Regions from separate parts of the Homo sapiens genome. Here all the other regions are linked to region 3. The links are contacts of gene promoters, found by promoter capture Hi-C in blood cells and fetal thymus (Javierre and others, 2016). All regions are on one chromosome and are shown on one strand. The core of a region is centred on a gene start or on the middle of the fragment in contact, and the rest is flanking DNA. Distances in the headings are between cores, read along the strand shown. Region 1 overlaps ACOXL (acyl-CoA oxidase like). Region 2 has its middle 26 kb from the start of MIR4435-2HG. Region 3 holds the start of BCL2L11 (BCL2 like 11). Region 4 overlaps BUB1 (BUB1 mitotic checkpoint serine/threonine kinase). Region 5 overlaps LOC107985933 (a long non-coding RNA gene). Region 6 overlaps LOC105373554 (a long non-coding RNA gene). Region 7 has its middle 17 kb from the start of ACOXL.

Region 1 (2,700 bases), core at 201-2,700, 360 kb before region 3:
TATTTTTAGTAGAGACGGGGTTTCGTCATGTTGGCCAGGCTAGTCTCAAACTCCTGACCTCAGTTGATCCGCCCACATTGGCCTCCCAAAGTGTTGGGATTACAGGTATGAGCCACCGCACCGTGTCAAGGTCTGTTTATTTTATAGGTTTTGATCATTTCTTCAGTTCCTTTGGGCGATGTGTGTATTATCTGTGCATTAGTGGCCCTCATCTACTGATTTCTTGGATTAAAATTATGAAATAATTCTTCAGGTTTTATTTTAATACTTTGTGGTTTTATTTTTCTTCATGTCAATTGTTGATCTATTTGGAATTTATTCTAGTACGTGGTGTGAAATGGGGATCTGACTTAATTTTCCTTTCCAGTTGGCCACCCAGCTGGATGTTTCAGTAATGTTTGTTTTTCCCATGATTTGATATACCACATTTGTCTTACATATATTAAATTTCCATATATACTTACTTCTGTTTCTCAATATTCTATTTTATTCTATTGGTCTATCTGCCTGTTTTGCACAATTTGAGTTACTTAAGGCCTTATCACACATCTTTTTAAAAAAAATTTTACGGGAGATTTGCCCCTTTTATTTTTTCTTCAGCTTTTTTTAAATTCAGGGGTACATGTGCAGGATGTGCACATTTGTTACATAGGTAAACGTGGGCCGTGGTGGTTTGCTGTACAGATCATCTCATCATCTAGGTATTCAGCCCAGCATCCATTAGCTATTCTACCTGATGCTCTCCCTCCTCCAACCCCCCCCAAGACAGGCTCCAGTGCATGTTGTTCTCACCATGTATCCATATGTTCTCATCATTCAGCTCCCACTTATAAGTGAGAACATGTGCTGTTTTGGTTTTCCATTCCTGCATTAGATTGCTGAGGATAATGGCTTCCAACTTGTCCATGTTCCTGCAAATGTCCTAATCGCATTCCTTTGTATGTCTGCATAGTATTCCATGGTATATATGTACCACATTTTCTTTATTCAGTCTATCATTGATGGGTATTTAGGTTGATTCCATGTCTTTGCTAATGTAAATAGTGCTGCAGTGAACATATGCATGCATGTATCTTTATAATAGAATGATTTATATTCCTTTGGGTATATACCCAGTATTGGGATTGTGGGGTCAATTGGTATTTCTGCATCTAGGTCTTTGAGGAATCACCACACTGTCTTCCATGGTGGTTGAACTAATTTACACTTTTACCAACAGTGTAAAAGTGTTCCTCGTTCTCCGCAACCTCGCCGGCATCTGTTGTTTTTTCACTTTTTAATAATCAACATTCTGACTGATGTGAGCTGGTATCTCATGGTTTTGACGTGCATTTCTCTAATGATCAGTGATGTTGAGCCTTTTTTCATATGTTTGTTAGCCACATGTATGTCTTCTTTTGAGAAGTGTCTGTTCAGGTCCTTTGCCTACCTTTTAATGGGGTTTTTTTTTTTCTTGTCAATTTGTTTAAGTTCCTCATAGACTCTGGATATTAGACTTTCGTCAGATAGATCGATTGCAAGAATTTTCTCCCATTCTGTAGGTTGTTCACTCTGATGATAGTTTCTTTTGCTGTCCAGGAGCTCTTTGGTCTAATTAGATCCGATTCGTCAATTTTTGCTTTTGTTGCAGTCATTTTTGGTGTCTTCATTATAAAATCTTTGCCCATGCCTATGTCCTGAATGATATTCCCTAGATTTTCTTCTAGGGTTTTTATAATTTTGGGTTTTACATTTAAGTCTTTAATCCAACTTGAGTTAATTTTTATATATGGTGTAAGGAAGGGGTCTAGTTTTAATTTTCTGCCTATAACTTGCCAGCTCTCCCAGCACCATTTATTAAATAGGGAGTCCTTTTCCCATTCCTTGTTTTTGTCAGGTTTGTCAAAGATTAGATGCTTGTAGGTGTGCAGTTTTATTTCTGAGTTCTTTGTTCTGTTCCATTGGTCTATGTGTCTGTTCTTGTACCAGTATCATGCTGTTTTAGTTACTATAGCCTTGTAGTATAGTTTGAAGTCAAATAGTGTGATGCTTCCAGCTTTGTTCTTTTTCCTTAGGATTGTCTTGGTTATCTGGGCTCCTTTTTGGTTCCATATGAATTTTAAAATGATTTTTTCTAATTCTGTGAAGAATGTCAATGGGAGTTTAATGTGAATAGCATTGAATCTATACATTATTTGGGGCAGTATGGCCATTCTCTGATGGCTGTATTTTTGTGGGGTCAGTAGTGATATCCCCTTTATCATTTCTGGTTGAGTTTATTTGATTCTTCTAACTTTTCTTCCTTATTAGTCTAGCTAGTGGTCTATTTAATTTGTTCAAAAAACCAGCTCCTGGGTTCATTGATTTTTTGAAGTGTTTTTCTTGTCTATCTCCTTCAGTTCAGCTCTGATCTTGGTTATTTCTTGTCTTCTGCTAGCTTTGGGAGTTTATTGCTCTTGGTTCTCTTGTTCTTTTAGTTGAGATGTTAGGTTGTTAACTTGAGATCTTTCTAGCTTTTTGACGTGGACATGTAGTGCTATAAAGTTCCCTCTTAACACTGCTTTACCTGCGTCACAGAGATTCTGGTACATCATTTCTTTGTTCTCATTAGTTTCAAAGAACTTCTTGATTTCTGCCTTAATTTCATTATTTACCCAAGACTCATTCAGGAGCAGGTTGTTCCGTTTCCTGTAGTTGTGTGGGTTTAAGTGAATTTCTTAA
Region 2 (2,826 bases), core at 199-2,698, 400 kb after region 3:
CACTTGGGGAATATAAATTAGTGTTTCTATAGCTAAAAGCCACCTTGAGAATATGAGGATAAGAGCTAATCCATTAGTCTTATGTCAGCAGCTGTACTAGAAGGAGAAAGTACATCAAATGTGACACAGCTTATAGTGAGGGCATCGATTCTGTATGGTCCTGAGCTAATCACTCCCCTTATCTGGCCCTCTCTCACAGGCAAATGCATCCAGCAGGACCACAGTTAGTTATTGCTCACCTAAAACATGTGGGCTACCATAGGGGCGGGGAGGAGGGGAGGTGGATCGCAGAGGACCCGCTGCAATTTCAAAGGCATGTGGGATCTGACAGGCAATGCTGCCATGTGCAATAGATCATGGACAGAGGGGCAGTCCTTTCTGCCCAGACCTCTGTCCTTAGCAAGACTACAGTGCACAGGCCCAGAGGCAGATCCTGCAGGAGAGGCAGAATTCTGTCCATGACATCTTAACATCTCTCAACGTTTGGGGCTTATTTGACAAGAAGAATCTGGGAAGGACACAATTATCCTTCCACTAAATTATCTGTGATTCCACTAAAATTATCTGTGATGATAAAAGAGGCCCTAGCCATTTGTATGTGGAGGAGAGGGTCTGATGGGAAGCCCATGGAGGGTCATTAAAGCCTAGATGAGATGGGGTGAAGAGGAGAATCAGAAATGGAAACCCAGGGCGTGCAGATTTGAAGGGTCCCAGAGCTGGGTGATGTGTACCTTTGATCTAAGGACCGTGGTCTGACGGACCAATCACTTGGTAAGTAGGGGCATTCATGTTACAATCAAATAAACACGGCTGTGCTAACTCAAATCCTGAGCCTTAGCCCCAAATCCCTCTAGTGGGTCCTTGCAATGGAAAGCTCAACTTGTTTGCTGTTTAGGTGGGCCAGTATTTCAACACAGGAGGTTAGAATTAATCTGAGAAATGAGGGAGTCTGTCAAACCCATACAGAGCCACATTAACCCTGGTGAGCCATTGGTGTGTATTTCACTTTTAAAAGGTTTGTAATATTTTGCAAATGTTGGCAAATCCATTGGATTAGCCTGGTGACTCCAATTTAAAGTGTATAATTGGGTATTCAACTTTAGAATCTGGATATTGGTCAAAAGGTATAAAATGACTTGTGTAAGCTTTTACATAGGATGAACATGCATTCTATGTTTCATTTATCAGATTTCAAAGAATGCTTTAAGTTCTTGGAGAGATCTTGTTTGTTACAAGCTTTGGGAGAACTTAAGACCGTCAAATACATTAGATGCATACACGCAGTTTAAAATATTTATGGGGTGTAATTAATAAGTTGTAAAATTAAATTAGTAGGTAGAATAATGAAATTTATAATTTGAACTCTAAAACTTAAAGAAGCTAGGTTTTTGAATGTTTAAAAAATTCTAACATTTATTTTTCAACCCTAATACATTTGACCTGTTTTCTGTGCACTTACTGCTCTCTGGGATTCTACCCTGACTCCCACTGACAACACCCAATAGAGGATTGATTTTGTAAATAAGATGAGAGAAAAGGCTTGGACAAAATTAAAGAGTAGGGAGTCAACAATGCATTCTAGGCAAGAGTAGTCCAAAAGTAAAGTAGATGAGTCCAGAAAGCAGAATGGGAACCGGAGAGCAGGATTCTGTAGGGAATGTGAAGCTTCCATTGGCTAATGTTTAGCTTGATTGGATTGAACCGGAATGATTTCAGCTGGGGAGGAGAGGGAGCTAAAGGAGGAACAACAAGGTGGGATTAGACCGCAAGACCCTGACCGTGGGGCTAGAAATTTATTTCTGATTCATGACATTTAGAGCTAGTGTCCTATAACAAGTGTCTCCCCTGGTGAGAAGCAGGCCATCTCTGAAGGCTGCCAAGGAAAGGAGAGTGGTAAGAAAATGCATCCGCCCTTAATATGGAAAATGGACTGGCCGGAGGCCAGGATGCCGGAGGCAAGAGTAAGGGGCTGGCAAGGGAGCAGAAAGGAGGTCATCAGAGACAGGAAAAGCAAAGCAAAGATGACTCCGAGTTTGCCACCCAGGCACCCGAGTAATCAGATGGATGAAACAGGCACGGGGAGGCAGGAGGAGACACCCTGTGGGGAAAGAGGAGATCAGTGTCTGGCGCGTGTACTTTCAGGGCCTACGAGACCCTGGAGGGAAGCTGGCCCATAGGTAAGAGCACAAGAAGGGGTGTACAGAGCAGGTAAGCTGGGGTTACAGATCCAGGTCTGGGATTTGGAACAGAAAAATGTGTGCAAAGTGATCAGAGCAGGGAGGAGCAGGCTGGGGAAGAATCTTTCCAAAGGAGGTGAAGAAGGAAGGCACGGACTCCAGGAAAATCACCTCCCACCCACCACTTACTAAACACACAGGAGAGGTCCCCATTCTCTGTATCTCCAGCCCACACAGCAACTCTGCAAAGTGGATGATTTTGCCCCATTTTACAGATGAGGCAACTGAGCCCTAAGAAGCTACAATTTTCACCCAAGTTCAAATGCTATCAGGTGGCAGAGAAGGGTGAACACCCAGGTCTGTGGGACTCTCCACTGGTTCCTCCTTCTAGGGCCCCGTGTCTCCAGGCCAAAGGCCAAGTACTTTCCAGCCTTTAAATGCGACATTTGCACTCACAACAGATGAGATGGGAGATGGGTTTTGGTTACTGGATTCCTTTTAATTTCATAAGAACTTGGTACATCTGTGTTTCAGGAAAAAAAACAAACTATTTTCAGGTTCCAGTAAAGCTATGAAATCCAGGGAAGTGTAAACAGTGCAAAGCTGGCTTAAGCCCTGGGTCAGTTCTACAAAGGCTCCTCTGGAACCC
Region 3 (2,877 bases), core at 54-2,553:
AGGGTGGTCCCTTTACAGAGTTTCCTTAATCCATCTAGCCTGACCTCACCTGCGGGATGTTCCATTTCCCGATCCACCTCCCACACCCCCGCTGCAGTTGTCTAGAAGCTGGGGCTGGGGAACTGAGGCGCGGGAGGAGCAGACAGGAGGGCCGGGGTTGGGGCGCCAGCCACGCGTTGGGAGAGCAGACCCGGGTGCAGACTCAGAGGACTGGAGAGGCGGCATGGAGTTTGGTCTCCTGGGAGGTAGAGTGAGGTGCTGCGGACTCCAGGGAGGAAAGGGATGGGTGGGGAGGCGGGAGGGGAGGAGGGACGGGGTATTTTGCGCTCCCGCACCGCGGCCCGAACTCAGCTGTTCTGCCTTCACTGGCCTCAGCCAGTCGAGGGAGCTCCTACGAGGTTATCTGCGAGCCCAGCAAATCTTGGGGGTCCTAGCCAAATGCAGTGCGCAACGTTCTCTCTCACTTGGAGGCCGCCATTCACCTCGTTTTTTTTTTTCCTAAAAGGATTTTTTTTTCTGAGTGCTTTTTTCATTTCCCTATTTTACCTGCTTTGCACATGCCTCCCGCCCTCACCCGGGAGGCGGCGAAGACGCCCACTGGGACCGCGCCTGGCCGTTTTCTGGGCGCGTCCTGCCCCCACGGCCTCTGTCTCTTAGGGCGACTGGGCGCGGAAGAAAAGCTGGAGAGCCCCTGCGGGGTGGCAGGAGGAGGGTGCCTGAGTCCCGCGAGAGGCCCGGGCGAGGAAGATGCGCAGCCTGCTGATCCGCGTCCCGCCCGGCGCCAGGGACCCTCAGAGGGAGGAGAGCTCAAAGACCTCGCCCCGCGCCTTCGCGAGGACCAACCCAGTCCCCGCGCCTGCCCCAGAGCGGCTTAGAAACTCAGGGCACAGTGAGAGCGCAGGGCGCCTCCCGAGGCTTCACACCGCCGGCCGGGCCAGCGGAGGCTGTGACCGGAGCGCCCCCTCTGTGCCGCGCACGCCGCGGCCGCCGCCGGGTTGGGGTAGGTGAGCGGGAGGCTAGGGTACACTTCGGGGTGGGGGATGGGCGCGCACATGGCCGCCAGCAGGCAGAGTTACTCCGGTAAACACGCCAGGGACGGCGGCGCGCGCGGGAGGCAACCCAGCGGGGCAACCCCCGCCTTTACCTGTCCGAGCCTGCACGCGCCGGCGGCCGCGGCGCCGAGGGGGGCGGAGCTTGCCAGCCCGCGCGCCGGGGCGGGACCTAGCGGGGGCGGGGTCCGCAGTGATTGGGCGTAGGAGCGGGGCCGCCAGCCAGAGCTGGGCTGCAGGGCCGCGCAGGTTTCACTTCGCTCCGCGCAGCCGCCTGGTCTGCAGTTTGTTGGAGCTCTGCGTCCAGCGCCGCTGCCGCTGCCGCCGCCGCCGCCGCCGCCGCCGCCGCCGCCGCCGCCGCCACTACCACCACTTGATTCTTGCAGCCACCCTGCGAACCCTGCCACACTGCGATCGCATCATCGCGGTATTCGGTTCGCTGCGTTCCCGCCGCCACCGCCTCGGCGCCCTTTCTTGGCCCTTGTTCCCCCAAATGTCTGACTCTGACTCTCGGACTGAGAAACGCAAGGTAAATACCTCCAAATCCCGGGGCGCGGGCCTGGCACCGAAGGAAGACTAGCGCTGGAGCCCGAACGGCACCACCTACTGCCCGCTTCCCGTGCACGTGCGAGCGGAGACGCTTGCATCGGCGCCGCTTGTCGCCGGCGGGAGGTGGGGATCCGTGTGGATCGGGTTCCCTCTCGGGCAGGTTCTCTTTAAAGAAAAGTCGTTCACGCGGAACCTGCAGGCTCTTGGCCGAAGTGCGGCTTGGGACGGGATGCTGCGCGCGGGCCTGGTGAAGGGTCGTAGGTCCGGGCAGGAGGAGAGGCAGCGCGTGCCTTTCGGCGCCGGCCCGGGAGCTGAGGACCTGCTCGTAGTATCGGGCTGTGCGCCCAGCTGGAAAGTCTCGCCGCCGGCTCCGGCGCCCTCAGAGTAGCGGCCGCGCAGTGTGAGGGTGTTTCGTGTCTTGGTTTTTTGGGGCGCGTGGGCCTGTTGCGGAGGATTTGCGGAACTGCGGTGGTGATTTAACTGACGAGACACGGCTTTTCCTTTTACTCATTCAGGCCAAGGTTTCGGGGCCACTGCTGCGTTCGCTTTCTCAAGCGTACCTGGGGCCCCTGCTTGCTCTGCAGGAGTCCTGCGGCCTGTGCCATCCGCACGATTCCCTGGCAGCGAGAAATCTAGGTCCTCCCCTGACCACCTGGACCGCGCAGGGGACTAGTCGCGGCCGGCAGAACCTGCTCGGTCCCTGGGCCGGGCTATCTTAGCGGCTCACGCATGCCCGAGCACACCCGACCCGGTTCGCGGTGCAGGCTGGCGGCGCCGTGCCCTCTGGGACCTGTTGCCCCAGGGTTGGCGCTGCTGGTGGAGGGCCCGACGGACGCCAGGGCGGAGGGTGTGAATTTACTCGATGGTCGCGGACGTGCGCGTCCGCGGCCAGGGGTGGCTCTTCGGCTTTGACTCGTGTCTGCGGCGCACCAGGAGAGAGAGGAAGTTGTTGGAGGAGAATAGTTGCCACAGCCAGGGCGGTGACGGCCGTTAGGGTCTGCCCCCGACGGGCCAAAACAAGGACAAGTGGCGAGGACTGGGCCTGGGGATGGCCCTGCGGGTCCGGGCGCGGCGCAAGTCCTGCTTTGTCTCCAGGTGACTGGCTGTCCAGGACGGCGGGAGCTGCTAAGGCTTGTGTCCGGAAGGAGCACAGGGATGGGCAGGGTGGCCGGGCCAGCCGGCCCTCAAATCCTCCGACGAAGCGGCAGCCGCCACGACCACGGCCAGAGCAGCGCTCGGAGGCGAGTTTGTCAACAATCGCCTCGCCTTTGGCGGCCTG
Region 4 (2,736 bases), core at 86-2,585, 450 kb before region 3:
GGTAAGGGAAAAGCTGGTGGGGAGAGTAAAGACAGGAGGCCGTGTGGTGAGGGCCTCTGGGTTAGACAACAAATTGTATTTGAGGTGAGCTGTGTGGGAGAATAACAGGCCCAGGAAGTTGCCACAGGAGCAGGTGGCTGACATGGAGCTCAGAGCCATGAAGAGAAAGATCAAAGAAATGAGATGTCAAAGTGGATGTAGAAGGCAGCCAGGCTGGCCATTCAATACCATTCCCAGTTTCCACACAAGCTACAAATGTCATTATTACCTGATTCTTAGAAATGCAGGCCATGTTATTTCCTGGATTTGATTTTGATGTTATCATTTGATTTAAAACCTGAACATTATGCAGAGGTTCTGAGGTTCTAGCTATGAGGGAAAAGAGGATAAAATACGGAGAAATTAAGGGTAAAACCGTAAGTAAAATTATCACATAATAAATTCCCCTGATCCTTCCAGTAGGAATCATAAGAAGTAAATCAACTCATTCACACTGTCTCAGAAATTTCAACTAAAACGTTTTTAAAATAAGTATTATACAATTTTCTGATCAACTCAACATGCCAGGAAGTACCCAAAAGAAATGTAAAACCTAACTAATAATTTTAAACAACCAGATAGGATAGGCAATGCTTATTGCTGAAATGTGATACTTAGTTCTAAGAAAAAGAAATGGCTGTATTTCTTTAAAAGTTGCATTAAACACATTTGATTCCATTCAAAATAGATGGAGTCCAGATTAAGTATTTTGGTCAATTTTGAATTAAAAAAAAATCCTACAAATACAGTGAAATTATCAATTTTTTTTTTGCAGGTTTGAGCTTTTAAAATGCTAAGACAAAGCCTCTGCTCTTTGGGGCTATTTAGTGGGCATTATGATGATCAGAATGCTTTCTCTGTTACCTGAGAGTGCAATTTGGTTTTCATTAAAAATTGGATGGGTTTTTTTTTTTTTTTTTTTTTTTTTTTGTGGAGACGGAGTCTCACTCTGTCGCCCGGGCTGGAATGAAGTGGCATGATTTCAGCTCACTGCAACCTCTGCCTCCCGGGCTCAAGCAATTCTCCTGCCTCAGCCTCCTGAGTAGCCAGGACTACAGATGCCCACCACCACACCTGGCTAATTTTTGTATTTTAGTAGAGATGGGGTTTCACCATGTTGGCCAGGCTGGTCTCGAACTCCTGACCCCAGGTGATGCACCCATCTTGGCCTCCCAAAGTGCTGGGATTACAGGTGTGAGCCACCATGCCCAGCCGGGTTTGTTTTTTAAAGAAAAGAAAATACTAGTACAAATCCAAGACTAAATGGACAACAACAGGCATTTTAGAAAGCCTGATTTTACCTTGAGCTGGCAAATGGGTTTCAGTGAGGCGTGTCTGAAATAACCTAAATGACAGCAGAAAAGGCATCAATGTAGATTATAAACTTACAGTACATAGCTGTTAGAGTGAAAACTAAATACCATAGACAACTTATTATAAGCTAGTAAAGTCTGACGTCAAGAGAGAATGTACAGTTGCATTTTAGAGTTGCTTCGAAATTAAAAAATAAAATTCTGGAAATATTTTTATATCCAATACATTATCTGTATTACAAAAATTCCTCCTTTTGCTTAGTTTATGTTAGTATTTCTCAAATTCATATAAAAATGCACCCTCTTCTCCACGTGTCAAGTCTGCAAATGTTCTAACACAGGATGTTTGACCTCCTACTTTAGGTTCTTTATACATTTGGAACATAATGAATATATTTGGAAGAAAGAAGTGAAAGTACAAAAGTACTTAGATTACTGCTTCAAAAGGCAGACATCATTGTTCATACTCTGTGAGAAGTTCTCAAATATGTCATTTCATGGCATATTTCATTTTCAACTCTACCTGTCGGGTAATGTGCAATTCCCATGCCTGACATTTCTGAGCGATGCGAGCCAAAGTGCACACTATAAAGCAACCAAGTGGTAACCCTTGTTGGCTCTTAAGTCAAACAAACCAATGGTTAAGAAGCCATTTTACGTGATGAGGAAAGACTGAAAATTACATATTAAATAATTATTGTTAGTTTTCTTAGGTATGATTATCGAATAAGGCTCTGTAAGAAATAAGATTTTAGAGATGTTTACAATAGGGTTTGGGGAAAAATATTTTGCTGTTATGGATCGGCTTTAAAATTTGTCAGCATTGAGAAACACAAAATGTTAATTATTAAAAGTTGGTGATAGATAAATGGAAGTTTATTATACTAATTTTTTCTTTTTTATGTGTGTTTGAAAAATCTCAATGACGTTTTAAAAAAGCATGAGTACTACAGAAAAACTGAAAAGATGAGTATATTAAAGGCTGGCAAGGGGTGCAGTAGATAATAGGTCTCAAATTCTACTAATGAGAGGGGAAGAGTAAACAATTGGTATAACCTTCAAGTAGGTAGTTTGGTTACATGCACCACAAGTGTAAAAACTCTTCATATACTCTTTGACTCAATAGTTTCAATTCTGAGAATCTATGAAAAGAAACTAAGTAAAAATAGGAAATATACTAAAAAATAATTTTATGATGAAGGAAAAAGACCTTGACGCAAAGCTGTATATGTACATAAAGCATGCATGCAATCCTGTAACAAGAAGAGAAAAAAGCGCCAAGGAAAATGCCAAAAGGTTTTCTTTCGTTTTCTGTATTTTCACAATTCCCTAAGTGAGATATGTTTAATCATAGAAAAAGTTTTAAAAATGTGAACAATGTTAT
Region 5 (2,815 bases), core at 310-2,809, 500 kb after region 3:
CCTACCATGTAAGATCCCTGCTCCCCCTTCGCCTTCCACCATGATTTTAAGTTTCCTGAGGCCTTTCCAGAAGTGGAGCAGATGGCAGCATCATGCTTCCTGTACAGCCTGCAGAACCATGAGCGACTTAAACCTCTTTTCTTTATAAATTACCCAGTCTCAGGTATTTCTTTATAGCAATGCCAGAACAGACTAACAATTCTCAATCCTCATTTTAAAATAATCACCATCTCCTAAGGCTGGGTGAAGACATAATATGTGTTACAAGGGAGCATGGTAAATGCTGGAGACACAGGTTGATTTATAAATGCCCTGCCATGAAGCGGGATACATGGCAAGACAGGTTTCAGTATGAGCCATGCCTTGAATGACAGCAGGGAAAATCACTTTTAATGGATGCCAGGGGCTGGCAGGAGCAGAAAAGACAGACATACAGAGTCTGGGAAACAGAGAGCAAACCAGCATGGCTGGGTAGAAGAAGGGCTGTCCATGGATGATCACGAGTGCTGGGCTGTGGCATTCAAACCTTATCCTCCTGGTCAGCAGGGAACCGTGAACACAGGAAAGGGCTCACAATGCAAAGATGAAGTGAATAAAGCATGATACAGAACTGCAATGCAGAATGACTCCAGTTTTATTAAATTGTGTGTGAGATGAGAGAGGCTGGTTGTATTAGTTTGCTAGGATGGCCAAAACAAAATGCCATGAATTGGGTGGCTTAAACAACAGAAATTTATGTCTCACAGTTCTAGAGGCTCAAAGTCCCAATCAAGTGCCAGTAGGACTGGTTTCTGCCGAGGCCTCTCGCCTTGGCTTGCAGATGGCCGCCCTCTCGCTGTCTTTTCACGTGGTTGTCCCTCTATGAACAAGACCTCCTCGTGTTTCTTCTTTGTCCAAATTTCCTCTTTTTCTAAGAGCGCCCATCAGTTTGGATCAGGGTCCACCCTACCAGCTTCATTTTAACTTAAGTACCTCTTCAAAGGGCCTATCTCCAATTACAGTCAAGTCCTGGCATCACCATTCCCAGTGACTGAGGAGGCCAGAAGTAAAATGAAGATGGTATCTGCCCTCCCCCTGTACCGTGTTAAGCTCAGGGCAGAATCTGAAGGTCACCAGGTGAAGTCCATGGCTCCCTGTCCCTGGGGTTTGAGGAATGCAGCCTTGCTGGGCATCACTGGCCTGCACATCCAGATGCGGCTGCTCTTTCTCACCCCACGCTTGCCCTGGTCAGCCAGAGCCTGAGCACCCGCACTTCAGCCGACAGAGTGCTCACTGGAGCAGCATCAGAGCCCCTCTGTCCTCTTCAGAGGCTGGGTCAGAGCAACTTCACTTCGATGCATGACACCTGAGAGGCACCTGCACACAGGTGCACAGCTGGAGAGAAAAGTCAGCAGCCTGCCTTGCCAGAGGGCAGACAGACCACGCTTGGACTTCAGTTTCCAGGCGGAACAAAAGGATCTCCACATTTTTTACCTTAAAAATTAATTGACAGGTCCTGTCTGTTCCCAAGTGTCTAACATCTAAGAGGGTTGGGTTCATAGTCTGGCTGAGGATATCCTTTCCCTCCCCTCCCATTTTTACTGTAAAAACATTTTGACTAGAAAAAGAAAACCTCTTATATACTCACTATCCCAGGCAAGATTCTTCTTTTTTCTTTTTCCTCTCTGGTTGTTTTTTTTGTTTTGTTTTTTTGTTTTTTTTTTTCATTTCCTTACATTCTCTGTGCATTTGCCTATGCACCGTGGGATTTAAACAATAGATTGGGAAAACAGTGGAGAGGGCACTGAGGGTGCCCTTTTGTGGTAGAAATTGATTTTGCAGCCCTCCCCTCCCCCCCATACACACGCACATACACACACTGGGTATTTTGTTAGTCTTAACCAAAGATCAAAACAACATAGCCTTGACCTTAACTCACAAACAGCCTCCAGCTACAGGGAAAAAGTCTCTGAGCAGGGGGAGTACAAGTCCCACCAGAGCCCTTATTGATGGCAATTTAACAACAGGTATTTTATTTAAGGCCTGCATTTTTCATACAGAGACACAGTGACTCGGCTTTCAGGTATGTCTCATAAGGAAGTAGGAATGGAGAAAAGACTTGGGATTTTGAATATTTTACACAGCTTTACTGATGAACAGTAAACTGGAAGTGATCGCCATGTCTGACTGTAAAGGAATAGTTAAATAAATGTGCCACCCATGAGTAGAATGCATACCTTACGCACGTGTGCATGCACCTTCTCCAGGCAGGAAGAGTTTCCTGTGCACCCCTCACCTCCACCCATAGGAAGAGCTATGGGACCTACAGGAACTCCAGTGCTCCTGGGGCACTCCCAGCCTGTGGCACTGGAGTGTCACGTGGACAACAGAGGGTGGCTTTGTGGTCAGAACAGCATGGGCTCAAATCCAGCTTGGTCTTGCCTTGGCCTGCGTAGCCCGGGCAGCTCTTCTGCCTCCCCCAACCCAGGGAAGTGGGGTTGATGTTCTGAATCTGCAGGGCTCTTGGAGAAGTTACAGGGTGCCTGACACATGGGAGCCAGGCTCTGCCCACAGTCACCCAGCCAGCATGTTGCAGAGCCAGGATTTTAAATTAGATCCAGCCAGTTCCAGAATCATTACTTTTTCCGTTCCGTATGCATACCAGGCTGCCTCTTTCTAGATTATCCTCCAAAAAGCCCTGGGGAGGCGGCAGCAGCATGAGCGGCAGACAGGCGGCCAAGAAGTGAGGCCCCAGACAGGGATCTGAGCGTGATCTTTGCCCTTGGGACGCAAGGCATCCATCCAAGAGGTCACAGAAATCAGCAGCTTTCACCGG
Region 6 (2,806 bases), core at 199-2,698, 430 kb before region 3:
ACTCAGGAAGCTGAGGCAAGAGAATCGCTTCAATCCGGGAGGCGGAAGTTGCAGTTAGCTGAGACCGCGCCACTGCACTCCAGCCTGGGTGACAGATTGAGACTCCATCTCAAAAAAAAAAAAAAAAAAAAAATCAAATCACATGTCAGGGAAGTGTTGAGCTCTGAGGAAAGAGAGCCACCTGCCACTAGGCCCTGGCCAGATTTATCTTAAAGCTGGTGGTTTGGGCATGTAGGCAGTGACAGCTGACCACATCGCTCTTGAGAGGTGACTGGCCAATCCCTTTCTTGATTCTGATAGAATGTGTTCTGTTTCCACTCCACCTGGATGTACTGCAATTCAATTCTGACACTAACTGCCCATAGTTAGCATCAGACTCTGCAGGTTTAAGAGCATAGTCCCCAGTAAGACTACTCTTACTTCAGATGCCAGCTGCAAGTTCAGGGGTTCTCAGGCCACCTGCACTTCTGACCAACTGGCCACTAAATTGGGAGTTTCCATGACCCCCTCAGGTTCACTAATTCACTAGAATGGCTCACAGAGCTCAGGAAAGCCCTAAGCTTATTATTATAATTTTATTATAAAGAATACATCTAAGATGAGGTCTGGGAGGGTCCTAGACATGGAACTTTCATGCCCCCCTCCCTGGGAAATTTGGTATGTCACTCTGCTGTCACATCAATGTGTTCGCCAACCACAAAGCTCCACTGAGCTTTGGTGTTCAGAGGTTTTATTGAGGTCTCATTACATAAACATGATTGAATAAATACTTAGCTACTTGATCGAAATCAGTCTTCAGCATATTGGAGGTCTGGAGAACAAGCCGATCTCACAGGGCTCAAAGCCTCAATCAACACTATTATCAGGTGCTTGGTCTTTCTGCTGAGCAGCTTCCATCCTGAAGCTGTCTAGGGGCCCCACCATGGTAATACAGGATTTACTAAGAAATAATTTTTAGGTAGGCAGAAAGGGTGAGGGTTCTCAGTGGAAATTTCTTTTAATAAAAGCAACTCCCAAAACGTTTCTTTCCTAATAGAAAAGCAGCTTGGAAAGCCAGGCCGGCAAGTATTGATATGCAAATGGAAGCGATTAGAAACTAGGTCCATCCAATTGGCAATTCCTCCCCTCTTCTCTTTGTCACCATGTGTGCCAGGTGTTGAAATGCCTAACCTTGTTTTCACTTTAACTCGTTACTTTGAATTTTGTCTTGCTTGTCTCTTTAATCACCTAGCCTTGCTTCTCATGTAAATAAGACTCTCTCTAGCTAGGAAGGCCGGACAAACTCCAACTGACCCCTTAATTTACAAGACACTAAGGGCTCCTCACCCAACCCCCTTTCGTAAGGAGTTGGCCTGGGTAAACAGATCCTCAGCATTTCAAAGGAGCCCAATTAACTGATAAGGTACTAACACCAACAATGTATGAAGTTCCCAGGATTTTTCTCCGAGAGATGACAACATAAAACCTTGAGTTCGTGTCCGGCATAGACCCTATATCTAATTATAATGAAAGATTTAGAACCTTGCTCCTGGTACCCTTGCTCTTCTTGTAACCATTTGTCTTTTAAGTTGTTTATCACTCTGTAACCATTTTGTTTCTTTTGATTCTTGCATGTTTTTACTTCTGTAAAATTATTACATTTGAGTCCCCCTCCCCTTCCTAAACCTAGGTATAAAAGTTAATCGAGCCCCTTCCTCGTGGCCGAGAGAATTTTGAGCATTAGCTGTCTCTTTGGCCGCCGGCTTAATAGAGGACTCTTAATTCGTCTCAAAGTGTGGCGTTTTCTTAACTCGCTAGTGGGTACAACAGTGTCATGGCCACCTACAGATAACACCACCTGTGCAGGACATCATGGCGACCTGCATTTGCATGTTAAAAGGCTAGGGTAGGAGGACCAGGCTTTTTGTGGGCTACATAAATGATACACCTGGTCAAACCAATCCCCTGGGCCCTAGGCAAATAAGACACCACCTCCTCCAGCCTCCCAATATAACTGATGACTTTTCTGCCACACAGGGGTTTTTCTCTCTGTTAGGAGCCCCTCTCCCTCTGTCTCTCTATGGGGGAGTGTGTTCCTTCTTTCTTGCCTATTAAACTTCCCGCTCCTTAAAACCACCCCACTTGTATCCATGTCGTTTATCTAATCAGCGGGAGACAAAGGATCATGGTGTTTCTCCAGTCATCAGATGGGGTCACCTCATTAGCATAACAAAGGCACTCCTATGACTCAGGAAATTCCAAGGGTTTTTGAAGCTCTGAACCAGGAACCCAGGAAAATGACCAGCAGTTTTTTTTTTTTTTTATTATACCACAGAGGTGATCTGCATGTTTGAACATAAGCTTACAATTTCATGAGCTTTAACAGCATCTCTACTTTTATAAAATCATATTCTCAGGACAGCAACCTTGTCCTCTTACCAAGTTGGAAAGTAATCATCATTCTTGCTCAGCTTGTATTGGCTTCTGGCCCTTCAAAGAGCTGGACACTTACTAATCTGGAAAAAGAGAGGTGAGCAAGTCTCAGACCTGTTTACTTAAAAACATCCAATCTCAGGGATAGTCCTGATGGAAGTTTATTTTATTATTATTTTTTGAGACGAAGTCTTGCTCTGTGGCCCAGGCTGGAGTGCAGTAGCTTGATCATGGTTCATTGCAGCCTCGACCTCTGAGGCTCAGGTGATCCTCCTACCTCAGCTTCCCAAGTAGCTTGGACCACAAGCAGGTACCACCATACCCCACTAATTTTTAAATTATTTGTAGAGATGGGGTCTCCCTGTGTTGGCCAGGCTGGTCTTGAACTCCTGGG
Region 7 (2,778 bases), core at 45-2,544, 410 kb before region 3:
TTATAGCATCACACAGGTATTGTGGGGAGCTGCTGCCACGGACAACTTCAGACTTACTGAAGTAGCTTTTTCTTTTAAGCTGCACATGAGTGCAGTCCCTGGAGTTTTTGCCCACAATATCTTTCTCAAAACAGGGGTCCATGTGTGAGTAGACCTTCTACAGATGCGAATGAAACCAGTGTCATTGTTGCTGGTGTCATTATGTCTATAGATTCAGGATGTTAGAGGGTGGCTCTGTGGTCTTTTCTGTTCGAGGTAAAACATAAACAGCAGGTCCTGGAGGGTCCAGTTGGGACTTGTCTTATGAATGGTGTGAATCATATTGGAATTTGGAAGCCTAATGGCCACCCAAGCCCATGGGCTGGGCAGTCGCTTCCCATGCATGCTCTAATATTCAGATGTGCCTGCAGATTCTTCAGTGTCTTCATGGCTCATGGCACTTGAGCACCCTTGTCTAAGGGATTCCAGACTTTCCTAGGTGGAAGGAATAAAATCTACCCCATATAATCAGTTCCATAGAATGCTGAGGGGTAAATATACTAAGATGGAAGCAGAGAGAGCCATATAGGAATATAGGATCCCCACATTACATCCAAGATCAGTGAGTATTTTAAACCTAGTTGTGATATATTCTCTTCATCCCTTTTTTTTCCTTGTGTAGAGCCTAGGAAGATTGTCTTCCTAATGCCTTTTTGTGTCTTTAATTAGGATTTATGCAGCCTAATATCCTGAAATCCCTTTCACTTTGTTCTGTTGTGATTTAGGGTGTAGTTCTTTCTGAAGTATTTTAACTTGTTTGTTTTGAAGTTTTTATGTACTCTTGTTTGCTTTACTGCTCCTTACTGTAAGGATGCCAAGATAAGAAAGAAGTTGAATTGTGGAGAAATACTGAGATTTTGCAAGCTTTAAAAAGAGTTCACACCCTTATTGAGCTGAAACACTGCACCACTTACTCCTGTACCATCACTGATGTTAAATCAAGTTTAGCCTAAATCTGCCTCCTTACATATTTTAAGTTTGGCCTAAAGGTTTCTCTGTACAGTGTGAACTATAACCTAAATGTAGTTGTAAACAGACTGTAGCCTCCTCTTGTGCCAACCACCAAGTCTTGGCCAATCAAAGGTGGCCAGCTGTTCAAACCGTGTTCAAATAAAGCACAAGCCAAGCCGTAACCAATCTGGCTGTTTCTGTACCTCACTTCCATTTTCTGTACTGTCACTTTCCTTTTTCTGTCCATAAATCTTCTTCCGCCACGTGGCTGCACTGGAGTCTCTGAGCCTACTCTGGCTCAGGAGGCTGCCGGATTTGCGAATCCTTCTTTGCTCAGTTAAACTTTGTTAAACTTAATTTGGCTAAAGTTTTTCTTTTAATGTTGGCCATCATGAAACCAATAAAATCTGCTGAGAACCTAACAACTAGATTTCTTTTTGCCTTTTTCTGTTTTGTTTGTCTTTCTTTTTTGATCTATTTTGTCTTTTCTCCGTTTTCTGGTTCTTCTTTCCCTCCTGGCTTATATTTCTAGCATCATAAGGGGAAATATTTCTTTTTCTGGTAAGATATTAGAAATTTGGCCTGTTTAGTCTATCTCATGGTTTTCTGTGTTCTAAAATATCTTTCAGTTTTCAGTCACAATTTGAAAGCATCGTTAGCCCTGGTTATACAGATGTGCCTAGGATGTGACTCAGGTAAGCTTTTCTGTATTTGCTCTATTTCACTTCTGAAGCATCTCATTGGTAATGTCCAGCCAGATCTAAAAACCTCTCTCGCTGGGCGGTCCTTCCTGAAGACCCCTTTGGTTTTCAGAATTAGTGGTGTTAGCCTACCCAACAGTCATATGCCAATTCTCCTATTCAAAAGATGCCCCTTGCTAATGAATTTATTATCTCTTGGCAAAGTCTGATGAATTAATTTCATAACCATCTCTCTCCAGAAGCTGTCTGGTGAAATCTCCTATAATGTATGGTCCTTGGTAACTCCTAAGCCCCTTCTGCCCCTCAAAGAGCCACAACCTGGCTTATGAACAAATGGCCGCAGCTCTCCTGCTAACCACCATGGATTTCAGTGGGTCTATCTGGTCTCCATTCCTGGTCTTCCTGAGAAGTAAGGTCAGGAGCAGCAGGGGCAGTTGGACTTAGGTCTAGGGCTCTGTTTCTGGTCATCGGGGGAGTGCTGCAAGACCCACCAGCTCAAGGTGCTAACCTGAGCCTATCACCTCTGGATGAAATGGGGTAATGTGGATGGGTGATGTTGGACAACTGGAAGGAGGACTCAGGTAGCCCCAGCCAAAACAAAAGAGCTGAAGAATAAAAATATGCTGTCTGGCTGACATTAATGGCCAATATTTAAAAAACTTACATATCCCCTTGCCAGTTTATAGCTCTTAGATTTTTAAATATTTATTTTTTTACATACAAAAATACTTGGGGTTGTTTATATTAACAATTTGAAAAAGATCCTATATACAATGTATAAACAGACAAGAAGGAAACCTACTAAAATGTTAGCGATTAAAATCTCTAGGTGGTGAGAGTATAAGCGAGTTTATTCTTTACAGTTTTCTTAGGTTTCCAAATATTCTCCCATATGAATGTGATATTTTTAGACTCAGAAATGAATATACAAGTATACAAATTTCCATTTTCATTGTGACTATGGTGAGTTTTTTTGTGTGTCCTTATCCTACATTCCTTGAAATTTTCTCTAAAGAGATTTGTGTTCTTATTGAAACAGTAAATTTTATAAAAATAACTTTGTTTATGGTGTGTTTCATTGTACAGA

What was found. The method cuts DNA at HindIII sites, captures the fragments that hold promoters and counts their contacts. A CHiCAGO score of 5 or more calls a contact.
Region 1: a contact is called between a fragment that was not itself captured here and the fragment with the promoter of BCL2L11 in region 3, in 1 of 17 cell types (fetal thymus). The highest score is 5.1, in fetal thymus.
Region 2: a contact is called between a fragment that was not itself captured here and the fragment with the promoter of BCL2L11 in region 3, in 5 of 17 cell types (erythroblasts, neutrophils, total B cells and 2 more). The highest score is 9.1, in erythroblasts.
Region 4: a fragment that was not itself captured here is called in contact with the fragment with the promoter of BCL2L11 in region 3 in 4 of 17 cell types (neutrophils, total CD8 T cells, naive CD8 T cells and 1 more); the score reaches 8.7 in neutrophils.
Region 5: a contact is called between a fragment that was not itself captured here and the fragment with the promoter of BCL2L11 in region 3, in 8 of 17 cell types (neutrophils, M2 macrophages, erythroblasts and 5 more). The highest score is 14.6, in neutrophils.
Region 6: a contact is called between a fragment that was not itself captured here and the fragment with the promoter of BCL2L11 in region 3, in 1 of 17 cell types (neutrophils). The highest score is 5.9, in neutrophils.
Region 7: a contact is called between a fragment that was not itself captured here and the fragment with the promoter of BCL2L11 in region 3, in 1 of 17 cell types (neutrophils). The highest score is 7.2, in neutrophils.

The regions. Positions count from the first base shown.
Region 1 is chr2:110,756,302-110,759,001 of GRCh38, forward strand. The region is part of intron 1 of ACOXL (acyl-CoA oxidase like); the gene reads left to right. Among named protein-coding and RNA genes, the nearest start is that of ACOXL, 25 kb to the left of the region's middle. The HindIII fragment of the contact is 4,274 bases long and covers 1-2,700 here.
Region 2 is chr2:111,519,818-111,522,643 of GRCh38, forward strand. No RefSeq gene overlaps it. Among named protein-coding and RNA genes, the nearest start is that of MIR4435-2HG, 26 kb to the left of the region's middle. The HindIII fragment of the contact is 429 bases long and covers 1,235-1,663 here.
Region 3 is chr2:111,119,611-111,122,487 of GRCh38, forward strand. BCL2L11 (BCL2 like 11) reads left to right here and starts at 1,304. Exons shown (of 4, transcript NM_138621.5): 1 at 1,304-1,578. RefSeq lists enhancers at 509-588, 1,739-1,858 and silencers at 869-1,408, 1,742-2,036, 2,829-2,877. The HindIII fragment of the contact is 10,886 bases long and covers 1-2,877 here.
Region 4 is chr2:110,669,185-110,671,920 of GRCh38, forward strand. It overlaps BUB1 (BUB1 mitotic checkpoint serine/threonine kinase), which reads right to left. Exons shown (of 25, transcript NM_004336.5): 5 at 1,341-1,384; 6 at 269-369. Among named protein-coding and RNA genes, the nearest start is that of BUB1, 7.5 kb to the right of the region's middle. The HindIII fragment of the contact is 5,248 bases long and covers 1-2,736 here.
Region 5 is chr2:111,615,652-111,618,466 of GRCh38, forward strand. It overlaps LOC107985933 (a long non-coding RNA gene), which reads right to left. Exons shown (of 3, transcript XR_001739641.2): 1 at 2,217-2,815. Among named protein-coding and RNA genes, the nearest start is that of MIR4435-2HG, 120 kb to the left of the region's middle. RefSeq lists enhancers at 731-1,232, 1,956-2,628. The HindIII fragment of the contact is 3,790 bases long and covers 1-2,815 here.
Region 6 is chr2:110,686,808-110,689,613 of GRCh38, forward strand. All of the region lies in intron 1 of LOC105373554 (a long non-coding RNA gene), which reads left to right. Among named protein-coding and RNA genes, the nearest start is that of BUB1, 10 kb to the left of the region's middle. RefSeq lists enhancers at 675-1,646, 1,647-2,618. The HindIII fragment of the contact is 1,780 bases long and covers 559-2,338 here.
Region 7 is chr2:110,713,851-110,716,628 of GRCh38, forward strand. No RefSeq gene overlaps it. Among named protein-coding and RNA genes, the nearest start is that of ACOXL, 17 kb to the right of the region's middle. The HindIII fragment of the contact is 787 bases long and covers 902-1,688 here.